Regions from separate parts of the Homo sapiens genome. Here region 2 is linked to region 1. Evidence: promoter capture Hi-C in 16 types of primary human blood cells and fetal thymus (Javierre and others, 2016). All regions are on one chromosome and are shown on one strand. The core of a region is centred on a gene start or on the middle of the fragment in contact, and the rest is flanking DNA. Distances in the headings are between cores, read along the strand shown. Region 1 holds the start of FSTL4-AS1 (FSTL4 antisense RNA 1). Region 2 holds the start of SMAD5-AS1 (SMAD5 antisense RNA 1).

What was found. Contacts are between HindIII fragments. The CHiCAGO score rates a contact against its expected background, and 5 or more counts as called.
Region 2: a contact is called between the fragment with the promoter of SMAD5-AS1 here and the fragment with the promoter of FSTL4-AS1 in region 1, in 1 of 17 cell types (neutrophils). The highest score is 7.2, in neutrophils.

What each region holds. Positions count from the first base shown.
Region 1 is chr5:133,254,712-133,259,251 of GRCh38, forward strand. It overlaps FSTL4-AS1 (FSTL4 antisense RNA 1), which reads left to right and starts at 1,734. Exons shown (of 2, transcript XR_007058939.1): 1 at 1,734-1,807. All of the region lies in intron 6 of FSTL4 (follistatin like 4), which reads right to left. The HindIII fragment of the contact is 11,288 bases long and covers 1-4,540 here.
Region 2 is chr5:136,131,693-136,136,317 of GRCh38, forward strand. SMAD5-AS1 (SMAD5 antisense RNA 1) reads right to left here and starts at 3,198. Exons shown (of 2, transcript NR_026763.1): 1 at 1,658-3,198. It overlaps SMAD5 (SMAD family member 5), which reads left to right and starts at 1,153. Exons shown (of 8, transcript NM_005903.7): 1 at 1,153-1,270. RefSeq lists enhancers at 417-476, 507-556 and a silencer at 867-1,506. The HindIII fragment of the contact is 4,393 bases long and covers 2,081-4,625 here.

The DNA of each region.
Region 1 (4,540 bases), core at 484-2,983:
CTTGCCTCCACCCTGCGCCTTCTCTGGAGAGTGATGGGGGCAGCTTTCACAGGGAGGAGATGTGGCCCAACTAAGCAAACCCCATCATCCTGTTGAGCCTCACATCCTGATGGCGAGGGTCTGGAATTTGTGGAGATGGCCTTCTGTGTTCAGTGATCACACATCTCCTGAACCTCACCTGCGCTGGCCACATCTGCAGGGCTGTGGACCAGTTAAGCCCCAGGCCTGGTCTCTGCTCTGGTGGGGAGCCAGGCCACATGAGAGGAAGATGAAGATGCCACATGCAGCCCTCTAGGGGGCAACGAGTGGTCCTTCTGGCTCCTGGCTGTGGCTCCAATGCCCCTGTGTTGACTGACCATCTGTGGGCTCATTAGCCACTATGTGGGAAGGTTTCCAAGGTCCCTGGACGACCAAACGTGATATGCCCAGCACTCAGAGTGTGATCAGGGGTCAGTGAGAGAGGGCTCAGCCAGACGCTGTGTCTGGGGTGAGAATGTGTCTACACACTGAGGCTGGTGTCTTTGGAAAGAGAGGGCTGGGTTGGGGGTCAGAGCAGCCCATCAGGGAGCTTGTCTGGCACTACTGGGCAGAAGTCTGTGCCCACAGAGGGACTGACGCCCTGCTATGAGAACTGACATTGGAGAGCTGCTCTGCAAGTAGGGAATCTGAGGAGGGCAAGGGAGTTGGGGGGTTCTCAAAGCTCAGGGCTTCCCATGATATCCCCCTGGGATGAAAACAAATGGGTCACACTGCAGTGATGGCCCAAGTCAGTGTGGGTTGGTTGGCACAAGACAGAGCTTCCTGGACCACTAGCTAGGCTGCGTGTCCCACAGTGGGATTCTGGGCAGGGCTGTCTGGCACTCTGGTGCCTAGCACAAGGCATGGCACACAGTAGGTGGGCTCAAGGCCATGACCTATCTCTCTAGGCCCTTCAAACCAGTGCAGTAGCATACCCTTGGTTTTCCAGACATGAGATGCCACAAACACCCGTCCTCACCTTTCTCCCTGAGTCTTGGAGCTTGGAGAGAAGAGGCAGTCACAGGGAATTAATGGGCTTACCATAAGCAGGCTAACAAACACCCTTCCTGAAAGCAGGAGGCCATAACATTTCAGTTGTTGGAGAACTGGGTTTTAGTTCCTATTACAGGTTTCCCTTAATCTCAGGCGCTATTTCTCACACTGACTTGAACTCGATAAGACACTCATAAACCCATCAGCACCCTCTCAAACAGGATTCTGGTGCTTTGTAGTGATAGAAATTAAATTTCTCAAATTCTTGTCAAGCTGGTGTTAGTTTTCTTATGTCAGAAACACACTAATGGAACACATTCCTACTTGGATATTTGCCATTTTTCAAATGATGCCATTGGTGAAAAAAACCCTGTCAAAAGCTCAGTAACCTGCCTGCACATCAATATTTTTGACTGAGCCTCGGAGGGCAAACTCAGGCTCAGGGGCCTGCTTGGGAATGAGGGCAATTTGGAGAGAGCACAGGCCAGGCGCTTAGACACATCTCTCTAACTGCGGCCTCTTCCCACATTATTCTCCTTCTAAATTAATGTGCTTTCCTGAAACAAACCCCTCAGGTGACCTAGGTGCCACCAAAGAAGCTGGGGCATTGGAGTGACAAAGTCTATTGATCTGGTCCCATCCCTGTGACCAGAGTCACACTGTGAAGTTGGCGAGTAGGGGAGGAGCCAAGGGGGAGTGCGCATGCCCAGTGTCTCCTGAACAAACAGGGCAACATCTCCCGGACCTTGTGACTTTGGCTGGTGTTTACAGAGTGAAGCTGCTTTGGCGTATCCTGGTGAGCCGGGCAAGGCGGGTGGGAGGGATGGTGTGCTTTTTGTCTCCTCTGTTCCGTCTACCAGAGATTGTCACTCTGGGATCCTTTCAAATAACTGCTGAATGTTTGTGGATGGGAGGCTGGGGACAGGATGTCTTAAAGCCTTTCATCTTGACATTCCTGTTTAGAGCACCAGGGTGCATCCAGCCTGCACAGGTGGCTCTGTATTAGCCAGACTTGCTCCAAAGCCACACAAGAGAGCACTTGCATCTGTCCCAAATCTCCTGTTTCCTTACGTGTAACCAGATTCAATCTTCCTGCCATTGTCATTCCCTCTTGCTTGCTTCATTTTGGGGATGGCAATAAAATTACTAGTTAATTACCTGCGGGTCAGTGGGTAATTTACTTTTTCAACTGGCCTATGTTGCTTGATGTTGCTTCAACTTTTATTACAGTTTAGTTATCAAGTTCTGCTCTCTGGTGTGAACAAACACCTTTGTAAGCTGCATAAAGGCAGAGACTATATCTGTTTTATTTATGTTGTATCCCCAGCACCTAATACAATGCCTACCACGCAGAAGGGACTTAATAAGCAGTTTTAAGCAAGTGAACTATTAGGCTAGTGCTCAGTCAACAATTATTTATGGAGCTGGTACCAGGAGCCAGGATACAGTGGGAATATACTGGCAAGAAAAACAGGCCCAGTGCTTGCTAACCTGGAGCTCATGGCTTAGCAGAGAAGACAAGTGTTAAGTGGGGAGGGAGAGCAGAGGCCTGAACCTGTCTACAGACCCCAGGTTAAGGGCCCGTGACTCCTGTAAAGCCTGGTTGCCCTCTTTCTTGGTAGAGCCCTCCCTGTGTGCCTGGCAGACCTGTGTCCTGCTATCGAGACATCCTAGTCTGATGTAGTATCCTCCTTGTTTGCAGGAGGGGCCGGCCTGTGCAGGGGCAGGGTTACCTGGGCATCCCTCTAGGCTCTGGGGTTCCATTTAGCCTCCTCTGGCCAATACACCTTTTTAGTTTTGAGAAAACTAAACCTCAATGTGACTGCTGTGTGCAGACGAACAGGAAGTTAGAGCAGAACTCAGTGCCCAGGGGCTGTGAGATCACCATTCTGGGTATCATGGGGTGCCACAGTGTGGCAGGCAGGAGAGGCATCCATCAGAAGGAGCAAAGGGTCCTTGCTGAGGTGGAGAGCACAGGGCCTCCTGGTCAGCAGGAGCATGGCTGTCACAGTGCTGCATACCAGCTCTTCCACCTCCGCTGGTTCCTGTGTGTGGGGTAGCCTTGGTCAGCTTGGCCACTCTATGGGTCTCTCCCACCCTACTGAGTCTACACCCAAAGATGATGGGCATACCTCTGCTCAAGATATTTGCAAAAGGAGAGTATCCTAACTGCCTATTACTTTGGTGTCTTAAGGGGGAAAAGAATGTATTACCTTATGTAATTATACAGAGCTACTCAGAATTTACAAAAATTCATACAGATCTCTAAGGTTGGATCCAGAATCTCCTGAGCAAGTCAGTGGAGAAGAGCAAACAGTTTTTACCTAACTAGCAAGAGGGGGCCATGCTGTGTGTTTCCAAATGCCAGCTCATCTTCCAATTCCTGTGCACTCATTATGACTATTTCGTGGCCTCTCTTGGAGCCAGAATGGGGCCATGTCATTGGGTTTGACATGGTAGGTGATAGGAGGTGACCAAGCCTGGCCACACAACCTCTGTGTCATTGTCTTGGTTAGTTTTATGTGTTACCTTGACTGGGCCACAAGGCACCCAGATATTTGTTCGAGCATTATCCTGGGTGTGTCTGTGAGGGTGTTTCTGGATGAGATTGACATTTGAATCAGTAGACTGAGTAGAGAAGATTGCCCTCCCCAATGAGGGCAGGCCTCATCCAATTCGTTGAAGACCTAGATAGAAAAAATGAGCCTGGGTAAGAGGGAAACCCTCCTGTCTCACTGCTGAGCTGTGACATTGGTCTTTTTCCTGCTTTCAGACTGAAACTGAAACACTGGCTTCAACAGAAGCCAATGTTTTATTGGTTCCGTAGAAGACATATACATCTTCTGTTGGTTTTATTTTTCTGGAGGATAACACAGTCATCATCCATGCTCTCCTCTCCTCGTCTTTGGAGGTCATGCATTTGATGAGAGTGAAGAACATGGTCTAGTCACTGTTTAGGGAGAGCTGCCTGACCCCATCGGACTTGATGAGGATGGGAAACCAGCCTTTACTATACTACACTACTGAGATTTTGGGATTTCTATAGCAGCTGGTGTTAATTACATAACACACCCCCTCAGAAGGGAAAGAAATACCAGTTAACGTATTTCCACTGAAGAAGTCATAAGGAAATGGGAAACAGTCTTTTGACAGGCCAAGTCATCCAGGTCAGGAACCTTCTGAGAATGTTCTAACAAGAGTAGGTCCAACTTTGGCTCCAATCCCCAGAATACCTTCTGTACAGGGAGCTCACTCCTTCACTCCACATCTGTATCTGTTGCTACAGCGTCCAAACTGCTGGACTGAGGGAGCAAGGGCTGGGGGTGGGGGGTGTCTCAGAATAGGCTGGCAGAGAACATGCAAACAAATTACACAGTACAATAAGCATTACGGATAGAAAGAACAAGATGAGAGAATACCAAGAGAGTAGCAGGGGAGGGCTATTAAGGTGTGTGTGTGGGGGGTGGGTGCTGGTGTGGCGGAAAGCCTCTTTGAGTAGAGAATATTTAAGTGAAGATCTTTAAAATGA
Region 2 (4,625 bases), core at 1,948-4,447, 2.9 Mb after region 1:
GAAATAAACTTCTAGAGCCTGGAGCAAAATAGTGGCTGCGCCATTTGTGTGTCAGATGAGATGACCCTGGCTCGGGCCATGGAGGTGGCAATTGAGGTGTGAGAAATGGTCAGATTTAGGATAAATTTTGAAGAAAGAGTCAGTAGAATTTCTGATGGATTGGATTAGGGTGTCAAAGAGCATTCCAAAATGACCCCGATTTTGATTTTTACTTATTTTAAAAAGAAAACCTATAATAGAACATTGGAGAGCCAGTATTGACCTTTTCAAATAAAAACAAAATTATTCAAAAGCTTTTTCTTACTAGTACTATTCAAATCGGGTACCCTATGTGGTACCAATATTATATTCTAGGAAATACTGACGGTTTTGGAAATTTGGAGGAAAAAGCATCGAGAAGAGCTCCAATTACTTAGAAAAGAGAGTCCAGGAGATGGGGTGGTGTATATAAGCCTATGGATGGTGTCTCTGCAACTCAGTGGCCCCGCCTGTCCAGGGGCTGGGTCCCCACGGGATCTCCCTCCCCACAAGGAGGTGGAGAGGCTATGTGTCTTGAACAACTGGGGTTGCGATCCAGTGTATGGGCAGTCCCACTCCTGGAACTCCAGGGTGGGCACTCGCTCCATTTCCACAGGCCCTCAAGGGTTCCAGGATTGCCCCGTGGGAGGGGTTTTAGTGCTGCATCTAGTAAGAAGCTGTAAGATGCTCAGAAACATGTTTTGAAGCTACTTTGCACAGAAAGAAGACTCTTCATTCAGATTTGTATTACAGATCAATAAAAGTAGCTAAGTCGTATCTGAAGATGTTTTTGTTTACACTTTGTATGTGACAGAAAACCTCCAGTTGTCTGTGTCAAGGACAATTACTTAATTTTATTACAATGTATACTGATTTGGTTAGTGGAAGCTTCTAGCGCCTACTGTGGTGGTGGTGGGAGCTATCTGATTCCCATTCCCAGGCCTGGCCATCGACGCGAAGGCCTCCAGCTGATCGGAAGTCGGCGTTGGCCGGCGCGGAGCCCGGCGCGGAGGCTTCTTTCAGCCGCCCGGGCAAGACACCCCTCCCTCGGTCCCGCAGCGGTCACTCCGCCTCTGGCGCGCATGCGCCGACCCCAGCGGGCGTCCTCCCGGGCTCCCTCTCCCTCCCTCCCTCATCCGGGTCCTGGGCGAGCGGGCGCCGTGCGCGTGTCCCGCGGCCGAGCTGCTAATAAAGTTGCAGCGAGGAGAAGCGCAGCGACGGCGTCGGGAGAGCGCGCCTAGCCGGCTCGCGAGTGAGTGAGGGTCCCCGGCGCGCGCGGGCGAGGGGAACTGGGGGCTGCAGGCTCTGCCCCGGCGGACTCGGGCCGAGGCGGGGGCGTTCGGCCGCGGACGGAGCGGAAACGACCCAGGGCCTGTCGGGCGGGAGGTAGGCCGAGTCCTGGCCTGCCGGGGTCCCGGCTGGCGGACACGGTGCGGCCCAGCGGCTGCGGAGGCCTCGCTGGCTGCCCGGGGCGTCCTGAGGCGGGGCCGGGGCTGGCCCTCGTCCCAGCCCCGCTGTTACCGCCCAGACTTTGGAGGGAGGCGTCTGGGACGCCCTGGAGGGGACCCCCTGACCCCGCGCTGTCCTGGGGAGCGGTTTGCTTTCCTAACTCATCGGATGTACCACCCTGGATACACACCCTTGATAGGACTGCGGTGCTCGGCCGGGCAGCCTGGGCTGCTGCACTGCGAAGCTGTCCAATGGCTTGATGAATCCGTGCCGCCGTCGCTTTGTGTTTCAAAGATAAGGATCCGCGCTTATCGGTGGGAATTACACTCTGGGCAGTTGTGACCGGCTACTGCAATCAGCTGGTAGTTAGACCTGGTTTCTGCCACTTGCCATGTCAGTTTTCACCACTGCAAGGATTTCTTCTACTTCATGTAAACTTCTCTGTGCTGCAAAGAGAATGCCAAAGCAGCGTCTTTTTGCCTTCACCATATTCAGCCGCTGGCCGGGTCCTATACTTCAATATCAGGGCTCAAATTAATATTCCAGTCTCTTCCCCTCCCCTTTTCCCCTCTCCTCCTTTCAGCTGCTGTTACTACGTGGAGTTTGGAGCCTAAGCTTTGAAAACTCCCATGTGGCGCGCCCGTCTTAAGTCTGAGCATGCTCAGTAGCCAAAACAGATTTTTGGTTGCAGAACTCGGGCGAGGATACTTGGGGTATTTGGACGTTTGCCGGCTTCCCAACAGAATGTTCCGGTTCTGGTGGTGATGGCATTGGAGAATGGGGCTTAGGCAAGCCTGTAGGTGAGGAATGGCTGAACACCCTGAGCCAGATGTTTATCTTGATTGTAAAGACAATGTTTCCTGACCAGCTGGAGCTTTGGGGGGGGGGGGGGGGTGTTGCGGGGGGAGGGAGCAATTTTGGTTGCTTGTGCATTTAAATGGGTGTGGCGCTAAGTATATCTTGTTTACCTTATCTTTCTGTGGAAAAGTTTTGATGTCTAGGTTTGTCACATCATGCCTGTTGCCTAGCACTACCAAAAGGGTTGTTATCTAGCAGCAAAGATTGAATAGGTGGAGGTCGTGGCTTGGCCTCACAGAAGTTGAGAGGAAAGGGTACTTGGGTTGCGTTTTTGAAAATTCGTATTTAAAACTAGAGTACTTGAATTTCCTTAGAGTACCTGAATTGCCCAGAGTGAATTAGTTTTTAATTTTAATTTGAAAGACAAAAGATTGAAAACCTTAGTCCCAGTAGGTTTAGTAACATTCCAAATAGCTTACAATTTCTGCTAGATGCCAATGCAGTAGTATCCATTGTGGGGAAAACAGTACCTACATTCAGTGTGACAGTTTCACATTTATGGATCCAAATATCATTATGAAATTAGTGTTCCAAATTTAAGGAGCTATTTGCAGATGTATAACAAATTATTTTAGTCTTTTATTCCTTTGGTAACTATTAATATTTTTTTCTCTACAGTGAAAATTGTAAAAATGCAAAACTTAGACAATTTAACAAAACTTAACCTTCATAAAGGTTGTAGATACTATGTTTAGATTTATAAAGTTTAATTTTGATGATTATTTGTGTGATTGTTCCTATACAGCTTCCTTTCCTTCCCTTTCCACATTGTTGCTCCCTCAGTCTTTTTTACATTACTGCTGTTAATTTACCCATGTATCTTTGTTAAAAATACCTTATTCATCATTTTGTGCTTCCATTCCTTTCAGATCATAGCTGAAATAAGCAAGAAAAGTTAGATTAACCTTCTCAACTGACTTTACTCTCAGGTTTTAAAGGCATCCACATGATATGGTCTAGTTAAAAGGAGGAAGAGAGCAGCAAACTGGAAAAAAAGAATAAAATATTTTCGTAGGTTCTGTACAGATCTGGTAGTATTATCTGCGTGTCTGGTTCACTGTGGTAGGCGCCACAGAAATGGGTAGATTGATAATGTGTTGGATTTCTTTCCCCTCTGGCAAAGTCAGCTATTAATTTCAGTGGGAGACAGTGGCAGAATGTTGTTACTAATGAGGTTTGAATCAGATTGTTGTTTACTGTTGGTTATGTAACATGTTGCTGGGAGTATTATTAAAAGTTGCATTCTGCAGCAAAGTAGAGGCAAGTAAATTCTGCTTACCCTCTTCACTGGGTTTTAATTCTTGGCTGAACCTGAAGGCACATTAGATTACAACCATAATTATACCTGGGCAGCCTGTCTGTTTCCTGTTTTCATCATGAACCCAAACATTATGATTTGCAGTGATGATCTTTTTTGTCCTTTGCATTGAACGGAGGCAGTGTGTTTTCTCCCTCTACTGAAAACAGATTTGTAACTTGGTCAAATTAAAGATTTTAGTGTTTTGAAAACTAGGCAGTAAAATACCAGTTTTTCATTTCTTAATACAGTTACTTAAGTTGAAATACCATCTAAAAAAATCTATTTCATATATATTCTTTGTCTTTATGTAAATTTTAATATTACTAGTACTTTGTAGAGTTAAAGAAACTCTTTTTGTTTATGACATATCAGTGTTTATTATTACCAGATGTATATGTTGGTCTAGGCAATGAGCCACACATCTGGGTGAATTTCAGAGCTGACTTGAGTACGCTTGAGGATATAGGTGTCTATTCTCTTGGTTTATCAGTCTTCCCTGTTTTTACTTCTAGACGATCTATATTCCTTGTATCTGTCTGTCTGTCTCTCTGTCTCTCTGTACACTAACCACAAAGAAGGCAAATAGTTTATTTCTTCAAATGTTACAAGCAGCTTATAGCCTATGATTTGCCCGTCTTCTCATAGGGTCAAAGACATTGAGTAAGATTCCCTTTTATAAGGGATACTAGTAGCCTGAGGAATGATTCTTGTCTCCACCAGTCTGGATATTCTAGAGAAAAGAATACCTGGATATTCTAGAGAAAAGAATATTCTAGAGAAAAGAAAAGGCCCAAGGAAGCTGGGATGCAATATAGGGTGCTTTCCCATCAAAACAGATGATGAAGGACCCTTGGAAGCTGACCCATGGCATCCCCCCGCCACTGGGTTCTAGCTCTGTCGCCCAATCTGGAGTCCAGTGGCGCAATCTTGGCTCACTGCAACCTCCGCCTCCCGGGTTGAAGCAATTCTCCTGCCTCAGCCTCCCAAGTAGCTGGGATTA